Linked DNA regions of Homo sapiens: regions 2, 3 and 4 are each linked to region 1. Evidence: promoter capture Hi-C in 16 types of primary human blood cells and fetal thymus (Javierre and others, 2016). All regions are on one chromosome and are shown on one strand. The core of a region is centred on a gene start or on the middle of the fragment in contact, and the rest is flanking DNA. Distances in the headings are between cores, read along the strand shown. Region 1 holds the start of KLHL6 (kelch like family member 6). Region 2 holds the start of MCCC1 (methylcrotonyl-CoA carboxylase subunit 1). Region 3 overlaps LAMP3 (lysosomal associated membrane protein 3). Region 4 overlaps MCF2L2 (MCF.2 cell line derived transforming sequence-like 2).

The links. The method cuts DNA at HindIII sites, captures the fragments that hold promoters and counts their contacts. A CHiCAGO score of 5 or more calls a contact.
Region 2: a fragment that was not itself captured here is called in contact with the fragment with the promoter of KLHL6 in region 1 in 1 of 17 cell types (activated CD4 T cells); the score reaches 5.6 in activated CD4 T cells.
Region 3: a fragment that was not itself captured here is called in contact with the fragment with the promoter of KLHL6 in region 1 in 11 of 17 cell types (M2 macrophages, activated CD4 T cells, M1 macrophages and 8 more); the score reaches 16.1 in M2 macrophages.
Region 4: a fragment that was not itself captured here is called in contact with the fragment with the promoter of KLHL6 in region 1 in 3 of 17 cell types (M0 macrophages, M1 macrophages and M2 macrophages); the score reaches 7.7 in M0 macrophages.

The regions. Positions count from the first base shown.
Region 1 is chr3:183,551,678-183,558,966 of GRCh38, reverse strand. KLHL6 (kelch like family member 6) reads left to right here and starts at 3,261. Exons shown (of 7, transcript NM_130446.4): 1 at 3,261-3,606. The coding sequence starts at 3,314. KLHL6-AS1 (KLHL6 antisense RNA 1) reads right to left here. Exons shown (of 2, transcript NR_046687.1): 2 at 6,641-6,914. RefSeq lists a silencer at 6,232-6,401. The HindIII fragment of the contact is 8,561 bases long and covers 1-7,289 here.
Region 2 is chr3:183,094,444-183,101,732 of GRCh38, reverse strand. MCCC1 (methylcrotonyl-CoA carboxylase subunit 1) reads left to right here and starts at 2,237. Exons shown (of 19, transcript NM_020166.5): 1 at 2,237-2,381; 2 at 7,128-7,174. The coding sequence starts at 2,293. RefSeq lists an enhancer at 2,172-2,311. The HindIII fragment of the contact is 810 bases long and covers 3,945-4,754 here.
Region 3 is chr3:183,121,107-183,128,395 of GRCh38, reverse strand. It overlaps LAMP3 (lysosomal associated membrane protein 3), which reads left to right. Exons shown (of 6, transcript NM_014398.4): 6 at 4,182-6,181. The coding sequence ends at 4,315. Among named protein-coding and RNA genes, the nearest start is that of MCCC1, 25 kb to the right of the region's middle. The HindIII fragment of the contact is 1,275 bases long and covers 2,808-4,082 here.
Region 4 is chr3:183,180,914-183,188,202 of GRCh38, reverse strand. The region is part of intron 27 of MCF2L2 (MCF.2 cell line derived transforming sequence-like 2); the gene reads left to right. Among named protein-coding and RNA genes, the nearest start is that of LAMP3, 22 kb to the right of the region's middle. The HindIII fragment of the contact is 1,360 bases long and covers 2,206-3,565 here.

The sequences.
Region 1 (7,289 bases), core at 2,012-4,511:
TTTTGTCATGTTGCCCAGGCTGGTCTGGAACTTCTTGGCTCAAGCAATTTTCTTGCATTGGCCTCCCAAAGTGCTGGGATTACAGGCGTGAGCCACCACACCTGGCCCAAGCATATAACTTTTGGAAGCTGACCTTGGCCGCCTGCCAGGTCTCAATTTAAATTCATGACTATTAATCTTAAAAAGGGCGAGAAAGGAAAGATTAGGTCAGATCAGAAAGTAAAAATTTGCCCTCCCATTCATCAGGCTAGGAAGTCAGACACAGATGAAACATTAAAAAGAAACAACGTTTCTTCAAAGATTAGGTCAGATCGGAAAGTAAAAAATCTGCCCTCCCATTCATCAGGCTAGGAAGTCAGACACAGATGAAACGTTAAAAAGAAATAACGTTTCCTTAAGTGACTCCTTGCAATTATAAATGTGTCATAAGGATACCCTTCGTGGGTGACTACTTATTCTTACTGAGAAAAATTGTTTTCTAAAAATCACAGACCATCAGAAACTTTGTTGTTTGCCATTGTGTCAGTAAGAATGAGATCTCATAGTTGTCTGGAAGATCTAAATCACTTTGACACTGGGAAGCAGTCTCAATTTCCAACTCAGATACGGGGCTTCTGAATACAACATTCCACATCTATCTCAATTTTGTAGTTTCCAGGGAGAAAAGACTTTGGGTCCACTGTAAAGTCTAGACTTAATGTTTATCCTTTTACAGATAGTCCCACTGTGCTTTGAACCTATCTTGATACTGTTCATTTACATTTAACCTAAACTTGGGGCAGGTGCGGTGGTGTGAGCCTGTAGTCCCAGCACTTTGGGAGGCCGAGACGGGTGGATCGCTTGAGCCCAGCAGTTCAAGACCAGCCTGGCCAACATGGCAAAACCCTGTCTCCACTAAAGATACAAAAAATTAGCCAGGTGTGGTGGTGCATGCGTGTAGTCCCAGCTACTTGGGAGGCTGAGGCAGGAGAATCGCTTGAACCTGGGAAGCGGAGGTCGCAGTGAGCTGAGATCGCACCACTGTACTCTAGCCTGGGCAACAGAGTAAGACTCCGTCTCAAAAACAAACAAACAAACAAACCTAAACTCCAAATTTTCTTGTAATTTTTATTAGAGTAAAATAAACCTATAAATGTATTCGGAAAGAATTGGTCCTTTTAATAATATTTAGTCTTTCCATAAAGGAACTTGGTATATTTATTTAAGTTTTCTTTCGAAACTCTTAGTAAAGTTTGTTAGTTTTCTTTATGTTGCTGGTTGCTGTTATTGCTAGGCATTTACATATGTTTTATTACCATTGTGAATGGCATTATTTTTCCATGACTTTTTTTTTTTTTTTGAGGCAGAGTTTCGCTCTTATTGCCCAGGCTGGAGTGCAATGGCACAATCTCAGCTCACTGCAACCTCCACCTCCCGGGTTCAAGCGATTCTCCTTCCTCAGCCTCCCAAGTAGCTGGGATTACAGGTGTACGCCACCGCGACTGGCTAATTTTTGTATTTTTAGTAGAGATGGGGGTTTCACCATGTTGCTCAGGCTGGTCTTGAGCTCCTGACCTTGTGATCCCCCTGCCTTGGTCTCCCAAAGTGCTGGGATTACAGGCATGAGCCACCACGCCCGGCCGTCAGGTTTCTTTATATGCTCCATTATAATCTTTTGGGACCACAATTGTATATTCAGTCCATCATCGATTGAAATGTCATTGTGCTGGGCATGACTGTACTTGTGACCGTTAATTTTAGATGTCAAGTTTACTGGGCTAAGAAATACCTAGCAACCTGTTAAAGCATTACCATGGGGCGTGTCTGTGAGGTTGTTTCCAGGAGAGATTAGTGAGTCTGAGTGGACTCGGTAGAGAAGATACACTCTCAGTGTGGGTGGGCACCATCCAATCAGCCAGGGGCCCAGAGAAAACAAAAACAGAAGAAAGGTCGATGTCTCTATCTCCTGAGGCTGGGATACAGTCATCTCCTGCCTTGAACAACAGGACTCCAGGATCCCCTGCCTTTGGACTTCAGGACTTACACCAGTCTCCCCACCCCCTGGATTCTCAGGCCTTTGGCTTTGGACTGAGAGTTATACCATCTTCTCTGGTTCTGAGGCCTTTGGACTTGAACTGAGCTCTCAGCAGTCTGTCATGCGACTTCTCAGTCTCCATAATCACGTGAGCCAATTCCCCTAATAATTTCCCTCTGCTATGCCTCTCTAGGTATCCTTTTGGTTCTGTCTCTCTGGAGTCCATCATCGACTGAAATATCATTATGCTGGGTATGACTGTAATTGTAATGGTTAATTTTAGATGTCAAGTTTGCTGGGCTAAGAAATACCTAGCAACCTGGTAAAGCATTACTGTTGGGCGTGAGAGAACGCTAACTGATACGCTCCTATAACTTCCCCAGGATATCATGGGATTTTAATAATGACAGTTATTACTACTTAACTGAGACATGCAGAGGTAATGAAAATACTTCAGGATCCACCGTTAGATGCACGGTCAGTAGATGTTGGGCTAATCTGAGACGTGCTATGGCAATTCGGTGTAGACCCACCCTGACTCATCCTCTGAGAAGATGCTGTTGATGGAGTTTTGGAAACCATTTCTTCTGTGCCCCCAAAGCATATTCGAAACAATAGACATTTTTTTTGGTGGGGGAAGACATGAAAGTTTGCCATGACGTTGTTTTCCCCTGGGTAGGGAGGAGGATGAAGATAGACGATCTGCAGTGCCGCCAGAAATGAGAATGTCAGGGATAAGTGGGGTTTCCATGGTTTACAAAGCACGGTTGTTGGATCATTGTGGGGTCTCAGACTCCTGGGAGGAGGAAGTGGGAGGATCATAGACTGTCTCCTGTCCATCCCCTCGCTGACGACTTGGGTTATTGAGCCACTAGGAGTACAAATGTGAAGCAGGAGGATTATAGACTGTCTCCTGTCCATCCCCTCATTGACGACTTGGGTTATTGATAGCATTAGGAGTACAAATGTAACAGCCACCACCGGAGGCTTCCTGCTCACGGATATGAGGTGGGAGATGCACCAAAATAAACACACAGCACTCACAGTGGACTCTGAGAGGACACTCCTCTTCCAGAACCCCCTCCCACACACCTATTCTAAGTAATTTCTAACCCTGTGATTACTCACAGAAAGAAGAAGAATAGAAGTTGCTGGCATTTGTAGTAACAGGATGAGAAAGTGCGAGACTTCCTGTTATGTGTGTGTGACAGCTGGTGATAAGTGGAGGGCCCTGCACAGGAAATCCGCTCAGCTCCTGCAATGGGGCCTGCCTGACACTTGGGCGCTCCTTCAGTCTCGATGTTGATGGCAGGACAAAGGGGCGCCTGGACCATGGGTGATGTGGTCGAGAAGAGTTTGGAAGGGCCCCTGGCACCTTCTACAGATGAGCCCTCCCAGAAAACAGGAGACTTGGTCGAGATCTTAAATGGGGAAAAGGTCAAATTTGACGACGCGGGACTCTCCTTAATTCTTCAGAATGGCCTGGAAACCCTGCGAATGGAAAACGCTCTGACAGATGTCATCTTGTGTGTGGACATTCAGGAATTCTCCTGCCACCGCGTGGTGCTTGCCGCAGCCAGCAACTATTTCAGGTCAGCATGCCTAGGACCAGAGTCAAATTGGGTGCAAGTTGCAAGGAAGAGGTGTGTTAGTGTGAGAGCCCAATCTTGAACAGTTGGCCATGATATTTATGGTTTACATATATATTAAGGCTTGTGTGTCTACTTAAAATATAAGAAAGGACACTATCACACTTTATTTTATTATTTATTTATTTATTTATTTTTGAGACGGAGTTTTGCTTTTGTTGCCCAGGCTGGAGTGCAATGGCGCAATCTCGGTTCACCGCAACCTCTGCCTCCTGGGTTCAAGCGATTCTCCTGCCTCAGCCTCCCGAGTAGCTGGGATTTGCAGGCATGCACCACAACACCCGGATAATTTTGTATTTTCAATAGAGATGGGGTTTCTCCATGTTGGTCAGGTTGGTCTTGAACTCCCGACCTCAGGTGATCCACCCGCCTCCGCCTCCCAAAGTGCTGGCATTACAGGTGTGAGACGCTGCGCCCGGCTTATCACACTTTAAATTTTAGGATTTAGGCCACATTAAAAGAGAGATTGGCATCATTTAAAAGCAATGCTTACATTCTATAGTAAACCTTTTGTGTATATTTCCTTGTTCCAAAGGATGGAAAATTACTGAAGTCATGGGGACTTTTTTCCCCCTTGGTCTGACTGGTGTTGGAAACATAATGTTGTCTTTGTTAATCAACAGACATAGAGAAAAAGGATGTGGCCCCTCTTCTGGAGTTGTCAAATGACTTGTTACAAATTAGGGGCTTCTTTATGTGTAGGCAGTGTGGGGAAAGGGAAAGCAGTTACAAAGATGCTTTAGATGGGAGAGGCCTCTAGTTACGATAAACTGGTGATCTCATAGTGGGAAGGCCTGAAGTCAGGAGACTTGGTTCCTTCTTGACAGTGAAACTTTAGGCAAGTCACAAAGTGCTCTGAATGTCTGTTTCATCATCTGTAAGGTGAGCACAATGATGATCACCTTTCAGGGCTGTCATAATTAAACAAGAGCGTGAAAAGGGTCCTACACAGTGTCTAGCATATAGTAAGTAGATGCTCAATATATCTTTCTTGGAATTCTTTTTCTGATTCTGCTTGATTCAGCTAAGGATGACTTATTGAGTGTTTCCCATGAGCACGTCCCTGGGGTAGGAATTTTATAGCGCTGGGAACCCAGTGAATACACCTGATCCAGTGTTCTCCATATCAGCATGGACATGGGGGAACCAGCCTGCAAGGGCAATGTGGATAATGAAGAAAGTATTTGGGAACTTGAAAAGAAATACCCTTAGAATTCTTCTTAATGAGATTCTTCTTAACTCTTGATTCTGGCTGAGGAAATTGAAAACGATTAACCTATGAAAGTATTATGGAAAGCGTTTTCTTTCTTTCTTTTTTTTTTTTTTGAGGTGCTTGGGGGGAAACGTTTCTTTGTAATTCATAGAGCAGGATCAGCAGGTTGCTGTGGGACTCATTAGGTCTCCTGTGTTGATAAGACAAGGGGATATCTGGGTTTGAGGGAAGCAGTGGCTGCTGTGTGCCAGACAGACATAGTTATCTGATTTTATTTTTGTAACAGCATGATGAAGGTGGCTGATATTTCACAGATGAGGAAATGAAAACTCAGCATTATATATCTGGTCATTGCTGGAGCAGGGACTGGGTATGTTCTGGAAATCCTTGTTACTGCAATGCAAGCTGCCACTAGGTCTGGGACTTCATTCCATGGGAAGTGTGTAAAATATAAAGTGTAAACACAGCCATCAAAATGGGTTGATATAAACACATTACTTTCTCCACCAACCTTGATCACGTGCTTTCACGTTGACTGCAGCCCCTCTCAGGAGTGAGTGAAGTCAAGTTAGCTCAATGCCCTGGGGACGCACATTTAGGTTGATCCTTTTGTATCCCTTGCTATCATAAAATGCATACCTGGAAGCAGTTTTGTTAGCGGGTTGGCCTGGCTGTGGACCAGGCCCGCTGGCTGTGTGCCCTCGAGTTGATCACTGGTCTTCTCTGGTTCTTGGGTTTCTCATCCTAAATGGGAATTTGGGCTTGGGTCCTTCCAGCCCTGCTGATCCAGGATACTTAGGGAAAGTCTCTGCCGGTCGTCAGAGGAGGCAACGGCAATGAGAAGCTGGAGAACATGAGGGTGAAGGCATCTGACTGTGTATACAGAGCCTCTCCCAAAACTGCCTGGTCATGAGAGGAAATTCCTTCAATTCTTCTCTTCAGAGAAGTGACTTTTGCTTCTTCTCTTGGGATTTTCAACGTGACTTTCCTTCTACAATGAATACTGTCCTGGAGACAGGATTCTTTCTTCCGGTGCTACTATTCCTATCAACTCCTGTTTGTGGAGCGCTTACTGTGGGCCAGGCCCTGTAGCTTCTGTATCACATACTCTAGTCCACTCCACCCTCACAACAACCTGACAAGGCAGGGAGTCCTATCCCCAGCCTACCGACGGTGAGCCAAAGTCCAGAGTGTCACAGCAAATAAAAAGTAGCCAAGCTGGGATTTAGACCTAGGACTGACGTTAAATCTGACACACTCTCTCGCTTTGTGTCTGAGGTTTTGAAAGGGGTTCTTCGTATGCTCAGGTTTAGGGAGGTCAAAGAGTCTCTCTGTCTGAGAGGCTTTCTTTTTTTTTTTTTTTTTTTTTTTTTGAGACGGAGTCTCGCTCTGTCGCCCAGGCTGGAGTGCAGTGGCACAATCTCTGCTCACTGCAAACTCCGCCTCCAGGGTTCAGGCCATTCTCCTGCCTCAGCCCCCTGAGTAGCTGGGACTACAGGCACCTGCCACCACGCCCGGCTAATTTTTTGTATTTTTAGTAGAGACGGGGTTTCACTGTGTTAGCCAGGATGGTCTCCATCTCCTGACCTCGAGATCCACCCGCCTCGGCCTCCCAAAGTGCTGGGATTACAGGCGTGAGCCACCGCGCCCGACCAGTCTGTGAGGCTTTCAACACAGCTCTCTGTGTTTTGGAGGGCCTGGAAGCTGGTTATAAAATTATGTCATTTTTTTCCTTTATTCACTGAGAAAATAATTACTTTCCACTAAGGGACTGACAATAGTTTATTAAACAGTCCCCTACGGACAGACATCTGGACTATTTCTAATCCACATTTTGCTATTACAAACAATGTTGTAATGAATAACCTGAAACATGAGTTTTTTTCATATGCATTTCTTGAAGGGGGTTTGCTGAGTCAAATGCATCTGCAGTCTTAGCGGTTATTGCAACTTCTCTTTCATTGGGGTTGAATCATGTTGCGTTCCCCCACGGCATCACCAAAAGAGGGTGTCATCCAACCGCTGAAGTTTTACCAATCTGATAAATGAGAAAGAATATCTCAATTTAGCTTTAATTTGCATTTTTCTTATTTTTAGTAAGATCAAACATCTCTTCGTATGTTTAAGGGGCATCTGCAGTTCTTTTTTTGTTGAACTGTCTCTTCACTGCCTTTCTGTTTTTCATGTATTTTTTTAAAATTAAATTTTATTTTTTATTAAAGATATGCAAATAGTAAACAAAGCGTTAAATAGTATTTAAAGGCTTATAATGAAAAAACAAAAATTCCTATTTCCTCCTCCACCCTGTCTCATGCGCCAAAGGCTACCACTTTCAACTTCTATTTGTTTCTTCTGGCACTAGCTCTATATTTCTGCAAAATACACTTATACTGCTCTTTCTTGATTTTTCAGT
Region 2 (7,289 bases), core at 3,100-5,599, 460 kb after region 1:
ACAAAGCTTCCACAGCGTGGAATGGGACCCGAGCAGGTTGCCAATGCTGGTTTGGGCAGCCTGCTTTTATTCTCTTATCTGGCCCCACCCACATCCTGCTGATTGGTAGAGCCCAGTGGCCTGTTTTGTCAGGGTGCTGATTGGTGCGTTTACAATCCCTGAGCTAGATACAAAGGTTCTCCACGTCCCCATCAGATTAGTTAGATACAGAGTTTCGACACACAGGTTCTCCAAGGCCCCACCAGAGCAGCTAGATACAGAGTGTCGATTGGTGCATTCACAAACCTTGAGCTAAACACAGGGTGCTGACTGGTGTATTTACAATCCCTGAGCTAGATATAAAGACTCTCCACGTCCCCACCAGACTCAGGAGCCCAGCTGGCTTCACCTAGTGGATCCCGCACCGGGGCTGCAGGTGGAGCTGCCTGCCAGTCCTGCGCCGCCGTGCGCTCGCATTCCTCAGCTCTTGGGTGGTCGATGGGACTGGGCGCCGTGGAGCAGGGGGTGGCGCTCATCGGGGAGGCTTGGGCCGCACAGGAGCCCATGGAGTGGGTGGGAGGTTCAGGCATGGCGGGCTGCAGGTCCCGAGCCCTGCCCCGTGGGAAGGCAGCCAAGGCCCGGCGAGAAATCGAGCGCAGCGCCGGTGGGCCAGCACTGCTGGGGGACTCAGTACACCCTCCGCAGCCACTGGCCCGGGTGCTAAGTCCCCCATTGCCCGGGGTCAGCAGGGCTGGCTGGCTGTTCCGAGTGCGGGGCCCACCAAGCCCACGCCCACCCGGAACTCCAGCTGGCCCGCAAGTGCCGCACACAGCCCCAGTTCCCGCTCGTGTCTCTCCCTCCACACCTCCCTGCAAGCTGAGGGAGTGGGCTCCGGCCTTGGCCAGCCCAGAAAGGGGCTCCCACAGTGCAGTGGGGGACTGAAGGGCTCCTCAAATGCCACCAAAGTGGGAGCCCAGGCAGGGGAGGTGCCGAGAGCAAGCGAGGGTTCTGAGGACTGCCAGCACGCTGTCACATCTCAATGGGGGGTTACAAGACATGAGCCACAGCACCCAGCGTAGTTAATATTTTATTTAGAATTTTTCCACTGATACTTACATGTGAAATTGGTCTGTCGTGTGTGTGTGCGTGATATCTTTGTTGATTTTGGTATCAAAGTTATGTTTACTTTTTAAAAAGAGTTTGGAAGACTTCCATCTTTTTTGTGCTCTGGGACAGAATTAATAGCATTTGAGTCAATTACTCATTTGTGTGGAATTTTCTTGCAAGACATGGAGGGCTTTTGTAACTTTTAGGGGTGAAGGTGAAGGTGAAAGTGGGCCATGGTGGTAGCAAGGATAGTTCTTTGATAAACTTCTCTATTTTTTCTGTGGTAACGGTTTGCTTAAATTTTGTCTCTTCCAGGATCTATTTTGATAAATTGTATTTTCTTGTAACATCATCCATTTCATCCAGAGTTTTAAGTTCACTTGAAGTTAAGCAAAATTAGCATCTTACAAATCTATAATTTGTTTCCTGTGTCTGTGATTTTCCCCTGCTTGTTTTTTAAATCATGTCAAATGTGCATTTTTCTCTATTTCTGATTAGATAACTATTTTATTTTTTGTGAACCTGTGGGTTTATTAGTCCTTTGACACTGGTTTCCTGAATTCATTTATTTATTCCTTTATCTTCCCTAATTTCTCCCTCCTGCTTTCCTCATGAAGCATCTACATGTAGTGTTTACAGTTTCTTTATTCTCTAGATGTTCCTCAGTTTGCTCTTTGACTTCCTCTTTTTCCCAATAGTCAGTTAGAATACCTGTTTTAAGCTCAGGTGGTTTAAAGATTTTCACTTTAGCTTATTTATTTTTTCATCCCTGAGAGCACTAGAGAATTGTGTATCCTGCTGTCCATCCGCATTTGGCTTCTTCCCCAGGGTTCTTCTCCCAGAAGGTGACGAGAGCGAAGAAACCCCACGGGATGCAGGAAGAAACAGTGACAGGCAACCAAGAGGGGGAGGATGGAGAAAACCCTTGCCTTAGTCAGAGCAGGCCCCAGGGGACGCAGAAACAAAGGCCACACCCCCACGAGCACGTGGCCAGACTGCCCAATCGTCGCTACTGAAGCCGGGCTCTGGTCTTTGATTGGTGTTCGTGGAGACGCCCTCACATTCTTGGATCAGCCCAAAGGTAGGCTCAGGCTCCGACGGTGGCCGGCGGGGGTCACGAGGCTTCGTAGTGGAGGAACGGGTTTGGCGTGTGGGACGCAGCTGCCTCTGTACTGGGGAGTCACGGAGTGGCCGGGCTCCAGGGACATGGCGGCGGCCTCTGCGGTGTCGGTGCTGCTGGTGGCGGCGGAGAGGAACCGGTGGCATCGTCTCCCGAGCCTGCTCCTGCCGCCGAGGTGGGTGGAGGGGCCATGGCTCAGTGGGCAGAGGCGGGAGCGAGGGGTGCACGGACCCGCGTGAGCGGTGGGAGGTGCGGCGGAACCCAGGGTCGGTGTGGGGAGGACGGTAGGAAAACCCCAGGCACTTTCGGAGGGGTTCTGCCGGCAGTCACGGCGTCGGGAGGAAGACATCCCCACCAGCCCTTCCCTTTCTCCCCGCTTCCGCACATCCACGCTTCAGCGCGCCTTTGGCTTCTGTTTTTCCATTTCTGAGGACTGGGCCCGCCATCCTCCAGGCTCCCCTCGCCGTCGCTGCAGCTCGTAGCCGTTTACATCGGGCTTTCGCAGCACCCCTTAGGTGGGAGCGTTGTTATAATCCGGTTCCGGGGAAGCCCAAAGGGATCAACGACTTCCTCAACGAAACACAGCTAGTAAGAAATGGGGCCGGGATGCCCTCAAAGCCATTTTTCAGTTCAGCTGTGCCCCATCAGGTGTCCAGTTCAGAGAAAGACTCCTGGAGTTCCTTCTCATTGTTAGAAGAGTGAAGTTGTCAAGAAGAGCAAATGTACCTTCCACAGAGCTGGGAAATTATTTTGTCAAAAACTCTTGTACCCAAGTTTGAACAACGCTATCAGATGACTCAGTCTAGCTCACCTGACTCCAGCTCTGTTTCAAATTTTGAGCTCTAAGCTTTGGTGGCAATAACTCTGGCAGTGAAAAAACCCTCAGGCTTGTAGATAGCTTTGCTTCTTTGTCTTCTTTTGCTTCATCGTTATCATCCTTCATCATTCTGGAAAGATTGACAGTTTAGTGTTCAAGGGCACAGACTCTGCAGTCAAGGCTGAGGTCTTAGTTAGCTACTCACTAGGTGTGTGACTTTGGGTAAGTTACTTAATATTTCTTCTTTAATTTCCTCACCTTGGAGATGATACGAGTACCTTGGGTTGTGAAAACTAAATGAATTAATTCATGGAATGAGGTTTAAGCACAATCTGGTACATAAGATCAGTCTATAAATGCAAACTCAACCATTTATATGAACGTTTGCTTGCTTTTATTTTCCAGAAATATTGTAGATGCCCTTTTTAGTTACTTAATTGTAGGAGTGCCCCAGAGAAACATAAGAAAGTTGTTGGAAGTTGGCGGGGCGCGGTAGCTCACGCCTGTAATCGCAGCACTTTGGGACGCCGAGGCGGGCAGATCACGAGGTCAGGAGATCGAGACCAACCTGGATAACACGGTGAAACCCCGTCTGTACTAAAAAATACAAAAAATTTAGCCGGGCGTGGTGACACGCGCCTATAGTCCCGCCTGTTAGTCCCAGCTACTCGGGAGGCTGAGGCAGGAGAATGGTGTGAACCCAGGAGGCGGAGCTTGCAGTGAGCTAAGATCACGCCACTGCACTCCAGCCTGGGCGACAGAGTAAGACTCCGTCTCAAATAAAAAATAAAAAAATAAAAAAAAAAGTTGGTGTAAGTAATGTTAATGTTCTTCTTGTTCTTCTGGTTTTTCTTTTCTTAGGCCTCCAGGGCTCTTCAGGATAGTACCATAGACCCATTTCCTGTCTTCCCTTTCAAAGCTTAGCTATTGTCTAAAGAACTATCCTCAAGTATGTCACTCTGGAGAGTGTTAGAGTTGTTAATGGCTTATAGAAGTAAAACTCTTTGCCAGGAGACTTGGTTCATGCCTGTATTTTCAGCAGTTTCTCAGCACTGTGGGATCCAAGGTGGGAGGATTGCTTGAGTTCAAGAGTTCAAGACCAGCCTGGGCAACACAGTGAGGCTTCATCTCTACAAAACATTAAAAAATTAGCCAGGCGTAGTGGCACACACTTGTAGTCACAGCTACTTGGGAGGATGAGGAGGGCGAGGACGGCCTGAGTCCAGGGGTTCCAGGCCGTAGTGAGCCATGATCACACCACTGTACTCCATCCTGGGTGACATCCCATCTCAAATAAAACAAAAACAAAAAAATCTTAACAGCACAGATAGTTTACATTATTTTTATGTTATGAATCTTTAGTAGCTCACAGAAAATAATCTCTGGTGGCAGAATTATAGACATGACAATAAGCTGGTATAGAGCTACCTTGAATCAGGGAAGCAGCTTCTTTTTTTTTTTTTGAGACGGAGTCTCGCTCTGTCGCCCAGGCCGGACTGCGGACTGCAGTGGCGCAATCTCGGCTCACTGCAAGCTCCGGGGAAGCAGCTTCTTAATCTTGTTTAAGCCATTGCTTTTAAGTTGCAGCTTAGATAATTGTGAAAAATGGAATAGATGATCAGAACATTGTTGGGATAGTGGATTACAGTTAAGTGGGATCTCTGTCTCTTTCTCCCTCTTTTTCCCTCTCTCCCTTCTTCTGTCTTCACTAGAAGATTGCAAAAGAAAGCTTTAGGTCAACAGTAGCCTTGAAACCGAATCAGTCTTAAGCTAGCTTTACCAACAAGCAACCATTTAATAGATACATCTGCCCAGAATAGGCCTTGAAACTTATCAGAAGCCTATCTGAAGAATGTAAAGGGAAGACGATGCTATGAGCTAGAAAATACCTCATAAAGATCAGGAAAGATGATCCCCCTCCTTCAGGATCAAGAAGGTAACATCAGCTGAAATGGAAAGGTGTGGGAAAGCAGCAGCCTCGTGAGGAAGCTAGCTCACGGAACTCTCCTGCCAAAGCTGTGGGTCTTCCCAGCAGCTCCTCATGGATGGCAGCATCTGAGTGTGCATTGTAGGGCAATGAGTGTATAGACGCATATAGATGTGTAGATGTCTACTGCATCTCCGCTCCAGTGAAATACTAGTCCTGCTCAACTACATAGTCATATACATAATATGTATATACTACTGCCTAGTTACATAGTTTCTAATGCACACGCTGTGCTTTTATCTTGTGCTTTGTGAATAATCTAAAATGGTTAGTTAGTCCTTTATAACCACATCTTCCAGGTATAGACAAAAAGATAGGTGGAATTGCTTCTGTAATTTGTTTGTTTCCCTGCATATGCTTTTTATTTATTTATTTATTTTTTTTTTTGAGATGGAGTCTCACTCTGTCACCCAGGCTGGAATGTAGTGGCACGATCTTGGCTCACTGCAACCTCCACCTCCCAAGTTCAAGTGATACTCCTGCCTCAGCCTCCCAAGTAGCTGAGATTACAGGTGCGCACCACCACACCTGGCTAATTTTTGTATTGTTAGTAGAGATGGGGTTTCACCATGTTGGCCAGGCTGGTCTCGAACTCCTGACCTCAGGTAATCCCCCCACCTCAGCCTCTCAAATTGCTAGGATTACAGGCGTGAGCCACTGCACCCAGCCCACTTATCCTCTTTAGCTGAAACTTAATAGACGTTATACTTTTTTGTTCCTAAAGTGAATCTGGCCTGTTTTCTGTCAGCTCTTGGTTACTTTATTTTATACACAGGTATCACGAAACTTAAAAATTGTTGAGACTTCTACCTCATTAAAATACCTCAAGTCATTTTGTCTCCCCATTTCTCCATTTTTTTAAATACAAGGACTTGGAATAGAATTGTATAGTACTTTTAAATCTGAGAGGTACCTTCAAGATCACCTCTTATAGTCTCATCTCGTGTGTGAGAACACTGAAGCCCAAGCTATTAAATCTTGCATCCTCAACTGGGATGATACCACCGCTAAAGGGTGGAAATTGATTCTTAGGAGAGCCAGGAAATCTTAGATTTTGTCATGGTTTACGGCTTTCCAAAGCTCAACCTTACCCCACCCTTCCTACAAGGAATAAAATCTTTTAAAAGTTTTCTCATTAGGAGAGTAATAATGAAAAAAAAGTTGGAGAAACACTGATGTAAAGTGACTCGACCCTGGGCAAGCTGGTCATTGGAGGGACTCGGATGAGAATGCAGCTTTTCTGGTCCCACAGCCAACATTCTTTCTGTTGCCCCTGTTTAACTTCCGTTTATTTCTCTGGTCTTACTTTTTAAACATGTCTCATGTTTAAACTTGATTGGTATTTTTCAAACTGTAGATTGACCAGCATATTTTAATAAAATAGGATACAACTGAAAGAACCAAAAGAGTTTTGTTCTTTTTGTTTTTGTTTTTTTTTTTGAGACGGAGTCTCGCTCTGTCACCCAGGCTGGAGTGCAGTGGCCCAGTCTCGGCTCACTGCAAGCTCTGCCTCCTGGGTTCACGCCATTCTCCTGCCTCAGCCTCCCGAGTAGCTGGGACTACAGGTGCCCGCCATGACGCCCGGCTAATTTTTTGTGTTTTCAGTAGAGACAGGGTTTCACCGTGTTAGCCAGGATGGCCTCAATCTCCTGACCTCATGATCTGCTTGCCTCGGCTTCCCAAAGTGCTGGGATTACAGGTGTGAGCCACCGTGCCTGGCCAGGGCAGAATGAGTCATTTTTAACAAAACATCTGTTTTCATTAAGTGTGTGTCCTGGGTAGTTTGTATTGTGAGTTGTAGCCAAAAAGGTTTCAAAAAAGCTAAACTAGATGATGTTGGTATACCTTGGTTGTTTAATCATCTCTGACTGTGGTCTTATGCCAGCCTCAGGAACAAGCAGGCTAGGTGACTCATTCAAGGACAGGTAGTACGAGGGAAAACAGCCAGAACTCTAACTCTTGAGTTCTAGATTAGTTTTCTACCCACTAAGAAAGTCTTACTAAAGCACTGTTAGTTGGCTTAAGGTTTCATGTTTTAAGAAACTGAAATTCTTTTGAAAGAACAATTGTGTTGCCTATTCTGTTTAATTGTAATTCCTTTTGGATTTATGTTATAGGACATGGGTGTGGAGGCAAAGAACCATGAAGTACACAACAGCCACAGGTACTGACAGACTTTGTTGTTCTATTTGATTTTGCTTCAGACTGGAAGTGTTTAAGAAAGGGAAATGTTTAATCCCTTAATATATGCATAATAGAATTAGTTATCATAAATTTTG
Region 3 (7,289 bases), core at 2,196-4,695, 430 kb after region 1:
CCAAAATATGTTATATCAAAAAATCATAGTGCATAATAGTATATTCATTATTGTTCTAGCTGCACAAAGAAACATCAGAAATATAAACAAGAACTAAGGAAAGGAATCATCTAATGGGGACAGGGAGAACTAAGAGGAAGGGGCAAGGGTGGAAGTGAAACTTCTCAATGCACAGCATCTTGTATTATTTTGACTTTTCAAATCATATGACAGTGTTAAATCGTCAGAACACTTTTTTTTTTTTTTTTGAGATGGAGTGTCGCTCTGTCTCCCACGCTGGAGTGCAGTGGCGTGATCTCGGCTCATTGCAAGCTCCGCCTCCCAGGTTCATGCCATTCTCCTGCCTCAGCCTCCCAAGTAACTGGGACTACAGGCGCCTGCCACCACAACTGGTTATTTTTTTATTTTATTTTATTTTTCATATTTTTAGTAGAGACGGGGTTTCACTGTGTTAGCCAGAATGGTCTCGATCTCCTGACCTTGAGATCCACCTGCCTCAGCCTCCCAAAGTGCTGGGATTACAGGCGTGAGCCACCGTGCCCAGCCAGTCAGAACACATTTTAAAGACTACAGGAATGATAGTTATCAAATAGAATTGAAGTGTCATAAACCTGGACAATGGATCAAGGTCAAAGATTGTTTCCTTAAGTTGAAATAGCAACCAAAACGTTGTTCACACAGGGCTTGGGGGGCGGCTGCTGGCACTGTGGGCTTCTTAATGAAAAAATTTAAGCTAAAAACATCAAAAATTAAAAGTTTTTAAAACATTTTTCATTTAACAGGCCATTGAAATGCATGGTACAAAAATCAGTGATAAGGTTATTATAAAATGAAATGGACAGAATAAATGTTTGATTTAATTTTCCATCTATGAGAATTTCACAATAAAATCAGTTTACTTTTTAAAAAAGAAAAAAAAAACATAGACAATGTTAAAAACAGTGACATAACTATTCAAAATTTGGAGTTGTCTGGGCACAGTGTCTCACACCTGAAACTTTGGGAGGCCGAGGTTGGAGGATCACTTGAGGCCAGGAGTTCAAGACCAGCCTGAGCAACATAGTAAGGACCCCATCTCTTCAAAAAAGTTAAAAAGTAGCTGAGTGGGGTGGCATTTGCCTGTACTACTAGCTACTTGAGAAGCTGAGGTGGGAGGATGGCTGACCTCAGGAGCTGGAGGCTTCAGTGAGCTATGATCGCACCACTGCCCCCCAGCCTGGGCAACAGAGCAAGACCCTGTCTCAAAAAAAAAATTGGGGGAGTTGAAGAGAGGGGAGATGGAAGGGACTCTGTTAGTGCTACTCTTTCAAAACAGTATCAATAGATAATGTTTAAACTGGAAACGAAGTTTAGTAAACACAAGTCCAATTTATTTCATAACCTCTTAATGTATTTCATAATTGTTTAATGCATACTTCATAATCTCTTTTTAGAACTCTAAAGGGACCCTTTATGAACCAATATTTCCCATGACAAAGAAACATTGGTTTGTGATAATTCCTTCAAGTTCTTTTATCCTATTAAACACAAGTAAAATTGAAATTAACAAATGTAATAAAATAGTACTTGTATGATCCTATCTTAATAAAAGTATTTCTATTTATTTTTCTAACCTATCTATCCTTGTAGTTCTAAAGAAAGAGGCCTGAAATAATGTTTCTCCATATTAGCAATGACATTTCTTGGTGGATGGTCTTGGGGTAATTGGTTTTACTTTTTTGTTTGTGCTTTTTCTCTATTATTTTAGTTATTTATAATGAGAATAGACTATTTAAAATAGAGTGATTTTGCTTTAAGCATGCACGTGAGTTTGCACACATGCACACGTGTGCACACACACACACACACACACACACACACATTCACAGAGGAACTACATGCCCAAAAAGGTTTATAGTGATTGATTCAAATAGAAGAAATGGGGTGATTGGATCAGTCACTTCTTTTCTTTGTGTACTCTTTTGCATTTTAGAAATGTTTAAACAATGTTAAATAATTTAATAGCTTAACAAGAGAGAGTAAAAGTTGCCCTCCACTTCCTTCCCAGTCCTCCTGCCAGTTTTTGGTGTATCTTTTCACACTGGACCCACAAGCACATGGGTTTGGGTTCACATGATACTTCACGGAGCTTAAGGAACTTCTGTTACAGAACACCGAGACCTACCACGTTCTTTTTAATGGCTATATTATTTTCTATTGTCTGAATACTATTTTAGTTTTTACGTATATTTAAATTGTCTCATAAAATGGACAGTGCTGTAATATACCTTTGCATAGTGTATGAATATATCTTTGGGATAATTTCCTAGAGATAGAATTATTGGGTCAACAGGTGTGTGCATTACATTTTGTTTTAACTTTTTGTATTTTTTCCCACTCATTTTAATTCCTTAACTTGTCAAAGTTCTTTTTTCGTTTAAGAAATATAGGCCAAGTGTGGTGGCTCACGCCTGTAATCCCAGCACTTTGGGAAGTCAAGGATTGCTTCAGCCCAGGAGTTTGAAACCAGCCTGGGCCACATAGCAAGACCCCATCTGTAAAAAATAAAAAATTGGCCCAGCATGGTAGCACACACCCCTAGTCCCAAGAGGATGAGGTGGGAGGATGGCTTGAAGTCAGGAGTTCCAGGCTGCAAAAAAAGAGAAACATATATAAGTAACAAAGTTTCATGTACTCCAAAAGGTCTTATCATGGAAAGCAACATTTCTCTGTCCCTCTGCCTCCCTGCCCCAAGATACAAGATACTTTTAACTAATTTTAACAATTTCTTCTGATTGCTATCTCCATAACTCTAAAAAATAAAAGCTTATCATGATAGTTCCTAATTGATCCATTTTAGACTTCCTGCTATAGCACATAAAGATTTGTGGTTACACAACTATTTTTGGGTAAATCAGTAAGGTATTAAGGCACACATTATTATAGTTTTATAAATATTGTCTGCTGTCAAGCCAAATCGTGTACTACAATCACAGTTTCTTTCTTGTCCAAATTTTCTTTTTCCTGGAATCTTTAATTAATTGCCACTCTGTCTTCTCTGACCTCTTCTGATACTTTTTTTCTCAGATCTCAGGTACACTGAATTGGGTTGATGGTGATCCTTGGTTCAGGACATAATTTCAGTGTTAGTTCGTACAATGACCTCACACATGTATCTTTTTAGCTATAATGACTAAGACATGGTTCTTCATTTATTTGCTCTTTTCTCCCAGTCTCTTCATTAGAGTATTCTATCAACTTCCCCTTTTACCCCAGACCCCTCCGTCTTTCCTCGGTTGAGATTTATTAGTCTCTGACCCAATCAATTACATTAAATGAATTGAGTAAGCGTTTTCTAATGGTATAAAGAAAAAACAGTCTTGATAAGTTTGTAAACTCTCACTTTTAAGCTCTCATAAATAATTTGGTCTGTTTTCTAATATTAGCTAAAAGTAATACAATAGAACCTTAGGAGTGACAAAAATGTTTTATAAAGTGGATAAAAATCATGTTTCTCAAGAGATCATCTGTAATCTGGTCACTGGTCACACAAATGTTTTTTGTTTGTTTGTTTGTTTGTTTTTGAGATGGAGTTTCGCTCTTGTTGCCCAGGCTGGAGTGCAATGGTGTGATCTCGGCTCACCGCAACCTCTGCCTCCCGGGTTCAAGCAATTCTCCTGCCTCAGCCTCCCGAGTAGCTGGGATTACAGGCATGTGCCACCACGCCCGGCTAATTTTGTATTCTTAGTAGAGATGGGGTTTCTCCATGTTGGTCAGGCTGGTCTCAAACTCACGACATCAGATGATCCGCCCGCCTCGGCCTCCCAAAGTGCTGGGATTACAGGCGTGAGCCACTGTGCCCGGCTGGTCTCTTTTATGTAAGCATATCCCACTTAGCAGGGAGTATGCCTGGAGTGACTTCTTACTCAGTTCAGGAAATAAGGATTATGATTATTGAATGTTAATTACTAAGAAAATATGGTTATTTAATCTTCTGACAGTCTTACATATTATTTGCTTACTTTATAAATTAGGAAATTGCAAGGGTAAATTACCTGCCCAAGGTCACAAAGCTAGTTAATGGTGGAGTTAAAAGTCAAGCTTTGTTTGATGCCAAAGCTCATCTTCTTTCCCCTCTAGCCTGCTTTCTGGACTGCATCACCAAACCTTACCCACTGTATTGTATTTGTTTTCTCTCTTAGTGGATGAGTGCTCGTCTGACTACACAATTGTGCTTCCTGTGATTGGGGCCATCGTGGTTGGTCTCTGCCTTATGGGTATGGGTGTCTATAAAATCCGCCTAAGGTGTCAATCATCTGGATACCAGAGAATCTAATTGTTGCCCGGGGGGAATGAAAATAATGGAATTTAGAGAACTCTTTCATCCCTTCCAGGATGGATGTTGGGAAATTCCCTCAGAGTGTGGGTCCTTCAAACAATGTAAACCACCATCTTCTATTCAAATGAAGTGAGTCATGTGTGATTTAAGTTCAGGCAGCACATCAATTTCTAAATACTTTTTGTTTATTTTATGAAAGATATAGTGAGCTGTTTATTTTCTAGTTTCCTTTAGAATATTTTAGCCACTCAAAGTCAACATTTGAGATATGTTGAATTAACATAATATATGTAAAGTAGAATAAGCCTTCAAATTATAAACCAAGGGTCAATTGTAACTAATACTACTGTGTGTGCATTGAAGATTTTATTTTACCCTTGATCTTAACAAAGCCTTTGCTTTGTTATCAAATGGACTTTCAGTGCTTTTACTATCTGTGTTTTATGGTTTCATGTAACATACATATTCCTGGTGTAGCACTTAACTCCTTTTCCACTTTAAATTTGTTTTTGTTTTTTGAGACGGAGTTTCACTCTTGTCACCCAGGCTGGAGTACAGTGGCACGATCTCGGCTTATGGCAACCTCCGCCTCCCGGGTTCAAGTGATTCTCCTGCTTCAGCTTCCCGAGTAGCTGGGATTACAGGCACACACTACCACGCCTGGCTAATTTTTGTATTTTTATTATAGACGGGGTTTCACCATGTTGGCCAGACTGGTCTTGAACTCTTGACCTCAGGTGATCCACCCACCTCAGCCTCCCAAAGTGCTGGGATTACAGGCATGAGCCATTGCGCCCGGCCTTAAATGTTTTTTTTAATCATCAAAAAGAACAACATATCTCAGGTTGTCTAAGTGTTTTTATGTAAAACCAACAAAAAGAACAAATCAGCTTATATTTTTTATCTTGATGACTCCTGCTCCAGAATCGCTAGACTAAGAATTAGGTGGCTACAGATGGTAGAACTAAACAATAAGCAAGAGACAATAATAATGGCCCTTAATTATTAACAAAGTGCCAGAGTCTAGGCTAAGCACTTTATCTATATCTCATTTCATTCTCACAACTTATAGGTGAATGAGTAAACTGAGACTTAAGGGAACTGAATCACTTAAATGTCACCTGGCTAACTGATGGCAGAGCCAGAGCTTGAATTCATGTTGGTCTGACATCAAGGTCTTTGGTCTTCTCCCTACACCAAGTTACCTACAAGAACAATGACACCACACTCTGCCTGAAGGCTCACACCTCATACCAGCATACGCTCACCTTACAGGGAAATGGGTTTATCCAGGATCATGAGACATTAGGGTAGATGAAAGGAGAGCTTTGCAGATAACAAAATAGCCTATCCTTAATAAATCCTCCACTCTCTGGAAGGAGACTGAGGGGCTTTGTAAAACATTAGTCAGTTGCTCATTTTTATGGGATTGCTTAGCTGGGCTGTAAAGATGAAGGCATCAAATAAACTCAAAGTATTTTTAAATTTTTTTGATAATAGAGAAACTTCGCTAACCAACTGTTCTTTCTTGAGTGTATAGCCCCATCTTGTGGTAACTTGCTGCTTCTGCACTTCATATCCATATTTCCTATTGTTCACTTTATTCTGTAGAGCAGCCTGCCAAGAATTTTATTTCTGCTGTTTTTTTTGCTGCTAAAGAAAGGAACTAAGTCAGGATGTTAACAGAAAAGTCCACATAACCCTAGAATTCTTAGTCAAGGAATAATTCAAGTCAGCCTAGAGACCATGTTGACTTTCCTCATGTGTTTCCTTATGACTCAGTAAGTTGGCAAGGTCCTGACTTTAGTCTTAATAAAACATTGAATTGTAGTAAAGGTTTTTGTAATAAAAACTTACTTTGGAGATTTGTGCATGTCATTTATTTTTTATGATTCATTTTTGTGCTGTATAAATTTTGTTTACAATCATCTTAGGTTTTTGCTCCGATCAATAAGTTAAATCATCTTTCTATAATTTGTTTCATTCTATTCTCCATTGCCACATTATCACTTGGTAGGAATTCCTGAGAAGATAAACCACATTAAAGTTACATATGAAATGTCTCAACTCTTAGCTTAGACTGACTGCATTACTAGTTTGCTTAAATGTCGCCACGTTTGTTCATTCATTCATTTGATCAGCATTGATAAGGATTTGCTAAATGCCAGATACTCTTGTAGGAGCTGAGATAAATAAGAGGTCCTATATTAGTTACCCATAGTGATCTGAGAGAAAGAGAGAGAGGGCTGGGAGCGGTGGCTGACACCTGTAATCCCAGCACTTTGGGAGGCCGAGGCAGTCAGGTCACGAGGTCAGGAGTTTGAGACCAACCTGGCCAATATGGTGAAACTCCGTCTCTACTAAAAGTACAAACAAATTAGCTGGGCATGGTGGTGTGCACCTGTAGTCCCAGCTACTCGGGAGGCTGAGGCAGAAGAATCGCTTGATCCCGGGAGACAGAGGTTGCAGTGAGCCGAGATCATGCCACTGCACTCCAGCCTGGGCGACAGAGCGAGACTCCATCTCAAAAAAAAAGAGAGAGAGAGAGACTGACCAAGATGAAAGCCGTCATATTTTTATAACCTAATCACAGAAGAAACATACTATCGCATGTCTGTTTATGGTTCACACAAACCATCTCTGGTACACTGTGGAAGGGGACTACACAAGGGCTCGAATATCAGATTTTAGTCCATTCTGTGCCATTATCACAGAATACCACAGATTTTTTGATAACTTACAAGCAATAGAAGTTGATTTGGTCATGGTTCTGGAGCCTGGGAAGTCCAAGATGGAAGGGCCAAATCTGATGTGCATCTTCTTGCTGCCTTGTAACATGGTAAAAGGCATCACATGGTGCGAGGACACAGAAGAGAGAGCAAGAGGGGGCCCCACACTTGTAATAATAGCATTAATCCATCCACGAGGGCAGAGCCATCATGACCCCACTGCCTCTTAAAGGTCCCGCTTC
Region 4 (7,289 bases), core at 1,636-4,135, 370 kb after region 1:
TACTCATTCTAGACATCCCTCTCCCCATCAGGCACTTCTACTGGTGGCATGTATAGTGGGGGTCCTAGACTCTTATCAGGCTATGGTTCTTGGACTTGGCCATCATAGTTACAGCTGGGCATGGGAGTATTGCGAGATGTCCTAGTGGATCACCTGAGCATCAGACATGTCCCTCTCGGCCTTTGTTAAGCAGCAGCCCTACCTCCTCACCACGACTAGGACCCGTTTCTCCTTCCACTATGGTAACTGCTCTCTTTGCCTGCTGGTCTATTGACATGAGGAGAAAGGGAAAGGATTCCACGTGCCAGCTGGGATGGGGTCTGGGTAGGGGAAGGGAAGAAGGTAAGATTCAGTAAGGACCTACACAACTTCCAGATGGGACAGTCAGCAGACAGGTGGGTGTGCTGTTTACTGGCAGCTTACAGTAAAAATAAAGGGCTGGGCGCGGTGGCTCACGCCTGTAATCCCAGCACTTTGGGAGGCCGAGGCGGGAGGATCAGGAGGTCAAGAGATTGAGACCATCTTGGCCAACATGGTGAAACCCCGTCTCTACTAAAAATACAAAAATTGGCTGGGCGTGGTGGCGCATGCCTGTCGTCCCAGCTACTCGGGAGGCTGAGGCAGGAGAATCACTTGGACTCAGGAAGCGGAGGTTGCAGTGAGCTGAGATGATGCCACTGCACTCCAGCCTGGAAACAGAGCAAGACTCCATCCAAAAATAAAAAAATAATAAAATAATAAAAAAAATAAAGGTTATAAGCTAAGACTGTTTTACTGACTTGGATGGTGCTGAAAATTTTTAATTCTGAATTCACTTTGCCTCTGATTTGCAAAGTTCTGGCCATGTGAAAGACATAAAAATGAGAATAACTGTTGTACCTCAGAGCTAACAGAGGAAGAACCTGTCTGCCAGCCTTACTACAGGTCCCTCGTCGGGTACCTCAGGGTCTCCAAGGGGGCCTAGGAGCTATCCGGTATAGCACGTCATGGTTGTTTCTTTGCCAATTTTTGTGGCATTTCCTTTTGGGCCTAGATAATTTAGTTACTTTCATTATCTTTTTTTTTGTGTTATTCAAACTTATTGGGGCACTCTAGTATTTCAATGAAGAAAATAAGTTCTAGCAAACAGCCCTCTCTGGAGAGATGGTGGGTTATTTTACATATCTGACCAATTGGTTTTAACTATTTTAAGTTTCCTTTTCTGATTATTAAAGGAGTACACATGTAGAATGTCAGGAATTTAGAAAATACAGGAAAGTACAAATAAAAATACAAATCCAACATAACCAGATATAATCACCATTAATATCTTCTTGCAGACGTTGTCTATAGAAATGCATGATTTGGTCAGTTGTGGTGGCTCATGCCTGTAATCCCAACACTTTGGGAAGCCAAAGCAGGAGGATCACTTGATATCCAGGAGCTTGAGACCAGCCTGGGCAATATCGCAAGACCCCATCTCCACAAAAACTTTTGAGACGGAGTTTCACTCTTGTTGCCCAGGCTGGAGTGCAATGGCACGAACTTGGCTCACTGCAACCTCCACCTCCCAGGTTCAATTGATTCTCCTGCTTCAGTCTCCCGAGTAGCTGGGATTACAGGTGCCCACCACCACACCTCGCTAATTTTTGTGTTTTTAGTAGAGACGGCAGTTTCACCATTGTGGCCAGGCTGGTCTCAAACTCCTGACCTCAGGTGATCCGCTTGCCTCGGCCTCCCAAAGTGCTGAGATTTACAGGCATGAGCCACTGCACTGGACCTACAAAAAATTTTTTTTAAAAATTAGCTGGGCATGGTGGTGGGTGTCTGTAATCCTAGCTATTTGGCAGGCCAAGGTGAAAGGATTGCTTGAGCTCAGGAGGTTGAGGCTGCCGTAAGCCATGATTGTACCACCGCACCTCTCCTGGGCAAGAGTAAGGCCCCATTGCAAAACAAAGATATGCATGATTTTTTTTAAATGGAGCCATACTAAAATTGGGGTGACCTTATATTTTAATCTTATTGGAAATTTTCCATTAAAATTCTGATGAAATGGGCAAGGCTTTGACTGAACCAAACTAGACGTATTGGCTTGCCCTTCCCTCCTGCCACTCATCTTTGGGCTTATTCCAATCCAGAACATTTGAGGGCAGCTGGTGGCTGAGCTGGGAGGTAAAGCTAGGTTATAAAGTTTCTTTGACCTACAGCCCCTCCCTCCCCCAAGCTTCCAGCAGCTCTGAAAGTCTAAGACAGCCAGCTCAGACTGCCTTAGGAGCTGGCAGGGACTTTGACAACAGAAATGCACGGGAAAAAAAAAATGTGCCCTGAGAATGTCAACATGTGGAATCTGAAAGCAATTAATTAGATGTTCTCAAGAATGATTCACTTCCTCTTAGCCAAAGATAGGCTTGCAAATGAAATAGACGTTTCAGCTATAGACCAGCCTAAGATATCCACGTTTATACTCTGGGCCACCAAGCAAAATATTGTAACCGAGCCTAGTACCCCTGGAAACATTTTGGAACTCTCTCCTGTTGGGAGCTCTGGAGAGCTACTGGGATGGATCAGACAGAATGTGACACCATGTATTAAATCCTAGAAGACAGAGAGGGGAAATTGGTTAGCAGCACACACAACACAATGATGAAGGGCTCAAACTCAGGTCTCAAAGACCCAGCCTCAAGTGCAGCTCCATCTCTTTGGATGGATTCTATAGCCTGTCTGTGCTTAAGTTCTTTTTATCATTCATTTTACAAAATGGAGATAATACTGTACAGTCTTGCCATGAGGATTAAATGAGATGAAGCCCTTAGGCTTGCGCCTAGATCTCTGAAAGCATGGAATTGTTAGCAGTTAGTTACCCCCTGGTTCTTCCAAGTGAAAGGAAGGAAAGCCCAGGGGGTTTAGGCATTGCTTTTAAGCAGCTCACCACTTCCCACCCCCAAGTGAAAATGATATCCTTTAGTTCATGTGATAGAGATGGTCCTTAAAAAGTTGTGCATAATTGGCCAAGCGCGGTGGCTTACGCCTGTAATCCCAGCACTTTGGAAGGCCAAGGTGGGCGGATCACGTGGTCAGGAGATCGAGACCATCCTGGCCAACATGGTGAAACCCTGTCTCTACTGATATTACAAAAAAATTAGCTGGGCATGGTGGCATGCGCCTGTAGTCCCCAGCTACTCAGGAGGCTGAGGCAGGAGAATCACTTGAACCCGGGAGGCGGAGGTTGCAGTGAGCCGAGATCGTGTCACTGCACTCCAGCCTGGCAATAGAGCGAGACTCCGTCTCAAAAAAAAAAAAGAAAAAGAAAAAAAAAGTTGTGCATTGAGAAAAATCTAGTTTGAAAGACAATAAAAATAGAATTTGCCCATTTAATATCTATGGATTGAGAGCTACCGCTGAACCAGCAGGATCTACAATGGTCTCTTTGTGCCATCCACTGGACAGTAAGGGAAACACCATGATTTTGTCTTCAAAGTCTATAATTTACCAAAAATATGTATGCTGGTGAGAATAATTTCAGCTCATTACTAGGTTCACTTGTTAATAAATTTCATTCCATTTGTTTAAGCAAAATAAAAAAGCTTAGAATTCTAAGCACTAAATGTGAACACTAGATTTCCTAAACCATTCAGCTTATCTGATATGCACCAGAAAGATTGTCGACTAAGGGTTTCAAAAGAGAATACTCTCACCAGTCCTTATCTGCAGGAATTCTCATCGCCCACCTTTCCCATTCTTGTCCTTCTCCACCAATACTCCTTATGCTTATCTGATACATAGACTGAGAGTGCCCCAGAGACTCAGGGTGTATCTGCTCCAACACACCACTAGATCTTGGCTGGGACAAAAGTCGTTCCATTCATTTTCCAAGAATACAACTATCACTTAGAATTTTGCTATAATCAGCTGGGCATGGTGGCTCACGCCTGTAATCTCACACTTTGGGAGGCCAAGGCAGGTGGATCACCTGAGATCAAGAGTTCGAGACCAGCCTGACCAATATGGTGAAACCCTGTCTCTACTAAAAATACAAAAATTAGCCAGGCATAGTGGCATGTGCCTGTAGTCCCAGCTACTCTGGAGGCTGAGACAGGAGAATTGCTTGAACCCGGGAGAAGGAGGTTGCTGTGAGCCAAGATCACGCCACTGCACTCCAGCCTGGGCGACAGAGCGAGACCCCTGTCTCAAAAACAAACAAAAAAACAAAACAAAACAAAACAGTTTTGCTATAATCAGATTGAATATTTGTCAAGAGCCTGTGTGTTTGGCATGGTTTTTCTGAGGGGTGTGTGTGTGTGTGTGTTTGCTCTGTTTCTTTTTAAAGCCATTTATTATCCTTATAATGTTTCTTTCCCTGAGTGTTTATGAGGATGAGACAATGGCAGACAAACCTCCCTGAAATGTAAGTAATAATAGCACACCTGGAGTGCCCAGAGCTGTTTTGAGACCCTCTCTTTAGTATTATTGTAATTGCTATACACAATAATCATAACAGGTACTATTTGTTGAATTCCTATGATGTACCAGGCATTTTTCTTTATCAGAAGATTTGCTAATCCTCATACCAAGACTGCAAAATCGATGTTATTATCTCCATTTTAGAGATAAGGAAGCTGATGCTCAAGAGGTTAAGTGATGTATCCAAGATCACACAGCTAGTGAGTGACAGAGTGAGAATCAGGTCTGACTGCCCTCAGGTCTGACTGACTCCAGAGCACCTTCTCCTGCCATGGGGCAATGGGCCTCTCAGTTGTTCCCTCACATGCCTGTGACTGGCCAGATCCTGAGTCTGAGATTTTGGGGTCCCCTCAGTGCTGCCAGCTCCTTAGTGCCTAAGACTCTTAGGGCCTCAGAGCCCATGACCAGTGAATCCAGCAGGGGATTAAATATGCAGATGATGTAAGACAGCAAAAGTCAGCCCAGGAGGTGGGCATGATGGCTCACATCTGTAATCCCAGCACTGTGGGAGGCTGAGGTGGGCAGATCAGTTGAGCTCAGGAGTTCAAGACCAGCCTGGCCAACATGGTAAAACCCCATCTCTACCAAAAAATACAAAAATTAGCTGGGTGTGGTGGCATGTGCCTGTGGTCCCAGCTACTCAGGAGGCTGATGTGGGAGGATCAGTTCAACCCAGGAAGTCAAGGCTGCAGTGAGCCGTGATCACACAACTGCACTCCAACCTGGGTGACAAGCCAGACTCTGTCTCCAAAATAAATAAATAAAAGCCCAGGGCTGGGACTGGAAGGCCTGGGTGAGGAAGGGAACATGATCTCTAGGAGTCAGGACACCCCGGTCCTGGCCCTGACTCAGCTCCCACAGGGCCTTAAGCCAGTCCCCACAAGGCACACAGCCTGGTGGTCAATTACCATCCCTGGCGGGGCACCCTGTGAGCCGCACTTTCCTCCGCAGAGAACCAGGGGCTTTGCCTGCAGGATGCTCTCTAAGGTTTTCTGGTTCTGAGAATTCTGAGTTTCTTCCAGGAGCCCTGGGGGATACCTGGTGAATAGGTTACTGTCTCTGCTGGCAGGAACCCGGGGCCTGGAGGGAGACAGGCGAGGGCACACCCAGAGCAGCTGCAGTTTGTCTCAGGAGAGACGTGTCACCCAAGGGCTTGGATGAGACTCCCCCACCTCCGCAGCCCCCCCTCCTGCTTTGTCTCCTAGGATAGAACAAAGCATGATAGGATGAGGTGGGACAGATGAGGACTTCACACACTCTAAGGGTAAATATTGTTCCGTCCGCTTGTGTTTGAATTGTATAAATGTGTTTCTGCGTGTATGCTGTGTTAGGGGGTAAAATTTGCATCTCCCTGAGGTTGCACTCTAAGGTGTATGGAAAACCTGGCTCTAGACTAAACCAGGCCCCCCGTGGTGCTCCAGGCATCCCCACCCTCACCTGTGGCACCCGGAGCTCCTGCTGTCACTGGCCCAGGTGGGTCCTGTGTCTTTCTCTGCGTTGTCAGGGCCTGCGCTGACAGTCCCCCACAGGGAGGTGGAATCTGGGGTTGACAGCACTGGGAGGATCCTTCCTCTTTCCACGTTCAGGCAAATCCTCGCCTGGAGGCAGGGAATGGGCTAGAGGAAACAGTTGACTGTTTCAGATGACCCTGAAACAGTTGAGTCCAGGGTCTGAGAGCCCCTCTGTGCCCAGCGCTGTGCCCCCTTCCCTTCCCCGCTTCCCTGCAGGGCCCGCGAGAGCAGGGAAAGCAGCTGCCAGCTCCAGGCAGTCATTTTACCCCAGGTGCCACTTACCCTGCAGAGGGGCTGGAACCAACTAATCATTTTACCTGGAGGTACCACTTACCCTGCGGAGGGGCTAGAGCTTGTCAGGTTTTTCAGTTCCTGTGTCGCCTCCCAGCCCTGCCCACCCCAGGCTGTGGCTGCCTATGGCTGACGAAGGCTCCTGAGCCAGGCCCAACCGCCAGCCTCCCAGTGGGTGGCTCTATGGTCCCTAGCAGCCCTGGCATCATCCGGGGCACAGAGGCCATGGACCCTGGAGACACAGCCCTTCCTATTCATGCAGGGGATGGTCAAGGGCATGGCTCCCTCTGTCCCTCTATCCCTCCATCACAGAACTTTCAGCAAGACAATCATTCTTCCATTCTCACTGCTTGCTCCTGGCATAAGGGGACCCCAGGGCTGGATGACTTCTCTAAAGAGGAGTCTTGGGTTTCCTTAGATGCTCCCAAGTCCTGTCTGGAGGATGAAGGCAGGGGGCACATCCCTGAGGCAGTTTCTCCTCTGCCCTCCACCCCTTGCCCCTCCCACCTCCTGGGACTAGGAACTCAACCAGGACTTGCTTCAACCTGAGAGGAGGGTGTCCAGCCCCCTCGGAGCCTGCCAGAGTCAGGCAGGATTTCAGAGGGGCCTCCAGGGAGGTGCTGCCCAGCTGCCCCCCCGCCCCCATGTTACTCACACAGCCCCCACTGATCTGCTCTGGGGAGGGCCTGGGGCCCAGAACGTGGCTTGTTGGGGGCTTGGGGCAGCAGCCCAGGAGACGCTACTTGTGCTGCCTGCTCACCCAGATAACTGCAGCTCCCTCCACTGCCGCCTACCGCCCTCTGGCCATGCCTCTGCCCAGAATGCCCTCCCTCTCCAGTCCTGTCTGCCCCTCAAGTCCTGCCCAAACCTCCCTGAATTCTCGCCTGAGCAGACACTTTCCTAGCACGGCTCCCGCCGCGTAGACTACTCAGCTGACCCTCGGTCTGGGGCTGTCCTGTGTTGGGACCTTTCTGCAGATGCTCTGCTCCCTACCCTGGCTTGTGAGCCATGTGGGGCAGAGACTCCATCTCACTCAGAGCGAGGGTA